Regions from separate parts of the Homo sapiens genome. Here region 2 is linked to region 1. The links are contacts of gene promoters, found by promoter capture Hi-C in blood cells and fetal thymus (Javierre and others, 2016). All regions are on one chromosome and are shown on one strand. The core of a region is centred on a gene start or on the middle of the fragment in contact, and the rest is flanking DNA. Distances in the headings are between cores, read along the strand shown.

Region 1 (2,901 bases), core at 114-2,613:
AATCCTTTGCCTTAAAATAAAATCTAATGCTAAATATTCAGTGTCCTGATTAATAATTCTAAGCTACCAATTTTTCCTTTAAAGCTAACCATGATGTCAAGTAAAACATTACACAAATACTCTGTGGAGTGTTGCTGCTGATTCTGTATTTGTGGCAGTGTATGTATCTTGGCCCAGGACATGGTGGCCTTCTGGGTTCTATAAATAGACATTAGTAATCCTTTTAGGGAAAGGGCCTGCTACCTCTCAGCTGCTGGCTGAATCTGCCCCTTAACTCATAAATGGATTTTCTCATGCCACATAAAAAACAGAAAAACAGCCCACCACATTCTCTCCCTGTACCTCTTTTTTGGTTTGATTCCTTTTGAATCTTTATATTCTATTTGTGTTTACATTATTTTCCTAAATAGAAAAATGCCAGAGATGCCTGAAGATTGAAATCACCCAATTTCAACAGGGGAAGAGATCTTATAATTATTTAAGTCTAATCCCTTTATGGAACCTGAGTTTCAGAAAGATTTAGTGACTTGATCGAGGTCTGAGGGACGGGGGTGGACTGAGTACATCCTGATATCAAGAAGATGGTGGAAAGTTCAATGGGCTAAAAGGAGTTGTGTTAGTCTTGGTATTGGCACACCAATAAGCAGAGGTCTGTCTTGGAATAAAAAAAACTACTTCCTTATTAGGCCCTGATCTTTGCCCTGAATTACTTACAGTTACAGAGGAATATATTTTGTAGGCAGTTTTTCTGGGAGGTAAGGACAGGTTCCTAGAGACGATCTTTGACGCCTTTTCACCACTGGAAGCAATGCTTCAGACCACTGTATTTGGAAGACAAAGGGACATGCTCACATGGCACAGTGAAAAGTGAAATCTTTTCCCACTTGGTGGTGGGTGCATGACAATATACTTGCACTTTGAAAAGCCTCTGTGTGGTCTGGTTATTTTTAAAAGGCCAGAAATGCTGGCCCTTTGAAGAATCACGCGTTTCCTCGGCCCAGAAAATAGACTGGGCTAGAAAGGCGCCCGGACTCCAATTCTGGGCCCGGGTGGTTGCAGTTTTTCAAAGGGATGTGAACGGTTTCCCAAGATAGGACCCAAGGGACTCTAGGACCCAGAGGCTGCGCGCGACGCCCGCAGGGCGAACTGCATCCTTTTGAGCTCCCGCTCCATGGCCTGAGCCGTCGTAGGGCGCGGGTTCGCGGCCCGCCAGGGGACGGTCACCACAGAGACGCAGCCGGCACTGGCGAGCGAGCGAGCAGGCGGCGCACGGAGCGCGTGGGCGTGTCCCGGCGGGGCTGCGCAGCTCGCCCCACCCCACCCCACCCCAGCCAGGTCGGCCGCCCCCACCAGGTCCAGTTCCAGAGCCCAGGCCGGTCGGCCGGGCCCGCGTGCCCTCGGCGGGCTGCGCAGAGCGCGGGAGCGGTTTGGGGCTGGGCATGCTGGGAGCCCCTCGGGCAACGGCCGCCGCCGCCACAGCCACACAGCCGCCGCCACTGCGTCCGTCCCCGGTGAGCGCCGCTGACGCGCGGAGATGAAATTCCCGGCCTCGGTGCTGGCGTCCGTGTTCCTGTTCGTGGCCGAGACAACGGCGGCGCTCAGCCTGAGCAGCACCTACCGCTCGGGCGGGGACCGCATGTGGCAGGCGCTGACGTTGCTTTTCTCGCTACTGCCTTGCGCGCTCGTGCAGCTCACGCTTCTCTTCGTACACCGCGACCTCAGCCGCGACCGCCCGCTCGTACTGCTGCTGCACCTGCTGCAACTTGGGCCCCTTTTCAGGTGCGTGCAGAAGCCCAGAGCCAGCCCCAGGCCGCAGCCTCGGTCCTGTAGCCTGATCTCCCCACCTGCTCGAGTGGAGGGAGGCGGTTTTCCTGTGGAGACAGGTGGCTGAGCCCCAAGCCGGTCCGCCATGCCCCTCAGCCCCATTATTCCAGTCAGGAACGCGACGAATCATGGCATAATGGTTATAAAGTTGGGGCACACTGAATTCCTGTTAGGTTCCGTCAAATGAAATAGCCAACATTCAACTGAAATTGACCAACAAAAATGGCAGTTTCTTGTGGTTCAACCTCATTAAAGACATTGGTTTCTCTGGGGTCAAGTAGGCTCTGACAGGATTGGCTTGTGTTGTCACAAACCCTTGGGAAGTGTGTTCTAAGCTGTGGTTACGGGGACAGCATGTACAGGTGATTTAATTTTAATTTATCAAACACATGGAGCTTACTGTGTGCCAAGCACTGTTCTAAAAGCTTTAACAGTATTTAATTCTCATAGGGAAGTCAAGAAATCCATGCACCATTCTTTTCTCTTGGTGGCGTTACGAATATTATGGGATATGGAAACATATGGGGTTCTAGAAATGTCTTCCGGCCCTGGCAAACTTATAAACGTAGCCATTAAAGCTGGTGCACAATGCACCATGAAAACAAAACTTGCTGTGTGTTAAGTAAAGAAAAACTGTTGGTGACATTTCTGGAAATTAATTTTTATTAACACAAAGCAAGTAGAAATACATGGTAATAAAACAGACTGGCTTATCTAAGGAGTTTAAAATGTGTTGTTTTAGTACCTTTCATCACTATAGGAAAAGCAAAACAAAGGCCGTCCATTTGGATTAGAAATAAGTTTATAATACTGAATTTTAGACATAGGCGACAGAGGAATTTGAAGAGATGGAAAGGCCAGAGAGACACCTCAGCTGCCAGAAAATTCAGCTAGCCCTACCAGGAAATCTCTCTCTCTCTCTCTCTCTTTCTCTCTCTCTCTTACACACACACACACACACACACACACACACACGCACACACACACATTGAGGAGCAAGATAAATTTTACAAAGTTATAATTTTTTTTTTTTTGAGACAAGGTCTTGCTTTATCAGCCAGGCTGGAGTGCAGTAGC
Region 2 (3,304 bases), core at 68-2,567, 170 kb after region 1:
AATATGTGCCTGCTTCCCCTTCACCTTCCACCATGATTGTAAGTTTCCTGAGGCCTCCCCAGAAGCAGGAGTCACTCTGCTTCCTGTGCAGCTTGCAGAACCACGAGCCAACTAAGCCTCTTTACTTCATAAATTATCCAGTCTCAGGTATTTCTCATTGCTGTAAAGCAATGAGAGAATAGACTAATACACAGACATACAGAGGCAGAGATATTCCAGGTTCGTTTAGTTGCTCAACAAATTTTGGGGCTTCTGTGCTTTTCATCTTTCCATGCCAATATCCTCAGCATGTCAGCAACATTTAGCCTCATGGTCATACACGGCTGCATTAGTTCTGGTATCGCTAGGAACAAAGATATCACGTTCAGTGACTAAGATGAGCATTTTCTGGGGTTGATCGGATTTTCTTAGGAAAGAAAATCTTTATTTCAAGTCCTCAGGAGTTTTCTCCTCAGGTTCCAGTGGCCAAGATTGGGCCACGTGACTCCCCACCGGGCAAAACATATGGGACAACAAATGTTTGTTTTTTCATTCTGTATGGTGAAAAGTGAGTTCTGCCAGCAAGAAAAAAAAAATTGATATAAAGTAAATGTTGGTAGGTCAGTCCTTTCCAAACTTTTCCATGCTATGGCCCACATAGAGGATAATACTTACATGGTACATTGAGGTAAACTGGAGGGGCTTGGTGGGCATCTGTATGGGGCTTGGTGAAAAAATATTTTCATTACTTTATATAATTATATGAAAAAATAAAATAGAAAGGGTGTTAAAATTGAATTTTTTAAAGCTTCCAAATAAAACCTCTTTCAATGCTTTAGTGAGACCCTCAATCTTGGTTTCACCCATATAATATTTTATATCTGGCTCTACGCATTGAACAGCCATAAGCAATTCCTGTTAATGAGTTTTTAATAATTAATTTTCCCTAAATATGAATAAATTATATTGTCTAGAAAGGTTTGCCATAGAAGCAGCTGATAAAAAACATTTGGACCCACTTTACAAACCACTAAAATTATATTTAAAGACTTCTGTAATGGTAGACTATGTAATTAGGACCATCTCTTTCACTGATAATTACAAAGGTTGGACAAAATATAATAGACATTTGCTCAAGGGAATTGGATTTTTTAACAAGATAGGGAAGAATTATGGATCTAAGACATAGAATAATGAAACCCAGAAAGATGAGCATGGCATTTGGGATAACTTTTTACCTCGAGGTGAGAAGATGTTAAGCCTTTTGCTTATGGGCCAAGGGGTAAAATAATCAGACTGCATGTCCTGCCAAGGAAGATGATTCTGGTAAACAGTCTTGCTTTGGGTTGAAACCCCATGGATTAAACCCTGGGAGTGAAACACTCAAACTTGATCTTGCAGACTGAATCTCAGTTTTAAATTACCCAAACCCCTAAAATTGAATTAAGGTGATCCGGAATTGCTAATGCCTCTAGCCAACTTCTAGAAGCCAATGTAAATTCTCTCTGAAGGAAGAAAACATTATCTTAGGTCTCAAATCAGACATATGATTTTTTGCATACATCAAGTGGACAATAAAATATAACTAGACACATAACGAGACAAAACAACATTATCTTAAATCAAAAGACAATGGAAACAGCCCAATCAGGGATGAAGATGATGGAGTTATCAGAAATAGACTTTAAAATAACTATGCTTACTATATTAAAAGAGATAAAAGACAGGGTTGAGAATTTCATCCAATAACTTGAAATTATAAAAAGTATACAAATGGAATTTCTAGAAGTAGAAAATACAGTAACCAATTTTTTAAAAAGAACAAAGAATCGATTCTATAGTGGTTCCTACAAAGCTGAAGATTAAGTGAAGCTTAAAAAATTGGACAGAATAGACCGGGGCGCAGTGGCTCACGCCTATAATCCGAGCACTTTGGGAGGCCAAGGGGGGCAGATCATGAGGTTAGGAGATCGAGACCATCCTGACTAACATGGTGAAATCCCGTCTCTACTAAAAATACAAAAAAATTAGCCAGGCGTGGTGGTGGGCACCTGTAGTCCCAGCTACTCGGGATGCTGAGGCGGGAGAATGGCTTGAACCCAGGAGGCAGAGCTTGCAGTGAGCTGAGATCATGCCACTGCACTCAAGCCTGTGTGACAGAGTGAGACTTTCTCTCAGAAAAAAAAAAATGGACAGAATAAAATAGCCAGAGTAAAGCACAGAGACATAAATTAATGTAAAATACAGAAGAAAGCATACAGACAAAAGTAATACCATGAGAAAGTTTAACATACATAGTGAGATTTCCAGAAGGAGATGAGACAGAATGGACAGAAACAATATTTAATGAAATATTAGCTGAAGGTCTTCCAAAACTGATGAAAGAACATATTAGTCAGAGTCTCTGTAGGAAGCAGATGAAACTCCCAAAATATTAATTCAGGGAGGATTTATTTACAATGCTGTGTGCTGGGATGGTGGATATAGCAGATCTATAAGGAATAGGTTCAGGAATCCAGTATAGCCTATCACTTTTCTCCATCAATATCCATCCACTTGCCCAGCTACAGAGGCAAGGACTATAGCAACTATTCTGTGTTACTTCATCCCCTCTCCCTTTTACCTCCACTGATCATAGCTAATGTTTTTGATTGCAGGTGGTTGTGTGACCAACTTAAATGCTATAATAGATGATGCACCTCCTCTATATGTCAAGCAGCACATTTTGTGCTCTACATCTACTATATTTCCAGGGACTCTGTGATTACAGTTCCAATTAATGTCAACAATGTCATGGATCAATGTGATGTGGTACAGCTCTAAGATATGAGGGACTCCCTTAAATCTGACGTGGAGGTCTTCTAGTTTTTTATTATTATTATTTATTTATTTTTTAGATCTAGTCCTGAATCCAGACTTTCTAGTTTTTTAATTCATGTTCTTCATTTCATATTTATAACTCTTATATTTTCCCTATCTGTACTTTCTAAAGCTATAATAAAGCACCAGGTGACTCCACAATCTTTATAAGAAACTTTGTTGCTATAGAGATTAAGCGCTACAGCCACTTGACCTCCAGTGCCTTGCCCTCTACCTGCATCACATCCTCTGATGATAAAGTGAGTAATCATTATGCCACATCGTGGTCATGAATTACATATGCCCTATTTCTTCCCAGTAAGAAGATTATCCGTGTGCTCCTTTAAGTATATGAACAACCAATTCTCAGAATTTCATTTTGAGTATGTGTGTATATAAAGAGATTTATTTTAAGATATTTAAGAGTCACTTATAGTTTCCTTTTTTTGAACTGTTTCTTCCTATC

What was found. The method cuts DNA at HindIII sites, captures the fragments that hold promoters and counts their contacts. A CHiCAGO score of 5 or more calls a contact.
Region 2: a contact is called between a fragment that was not itself captured here and the fragment with the promoter of XK in region 1, in 1 of 17 cell types (naive B cells). The highest score is 5.0, in naive B cells.

The regions. Positions count from the first base shown.
Region 1 is chrX:37,684,428-37,687,328 of GRCh38, forward strand. It overlaps XK (X-linked Kx blood group antigen, Kell and VPS13A binding protein), which reads left to right and starts at 1,364. Exons shown (of 3, transcript NM_021083.4): 1 at 1,364-1,779. The coding sequence starts at 1,535. It overlaps LANCL3 (LanC like family member 3), which reads left to right. Exons shown (of 5, transcript NM_001170331.2): 5 at 1-36. RefSeq lists a silencer at 1,106-1,485 and enhancers at 1,155-1,666, 1,667-2,176. The HindIII fragment of the contact is 2,462 bases long and covers 1-2,247 here.
Region 2 is chrX:37,851,270-37,854,573 of GRCh38, forward strand. No RefSeq gene overlaps it. Among named protein-coding and RNA genes, the nearest start is that of DYNLT3, 5.4 kb to the left of the region's middle. The HindIII fragment of the contact is 1,064 bases long and covers 786-1,849 here.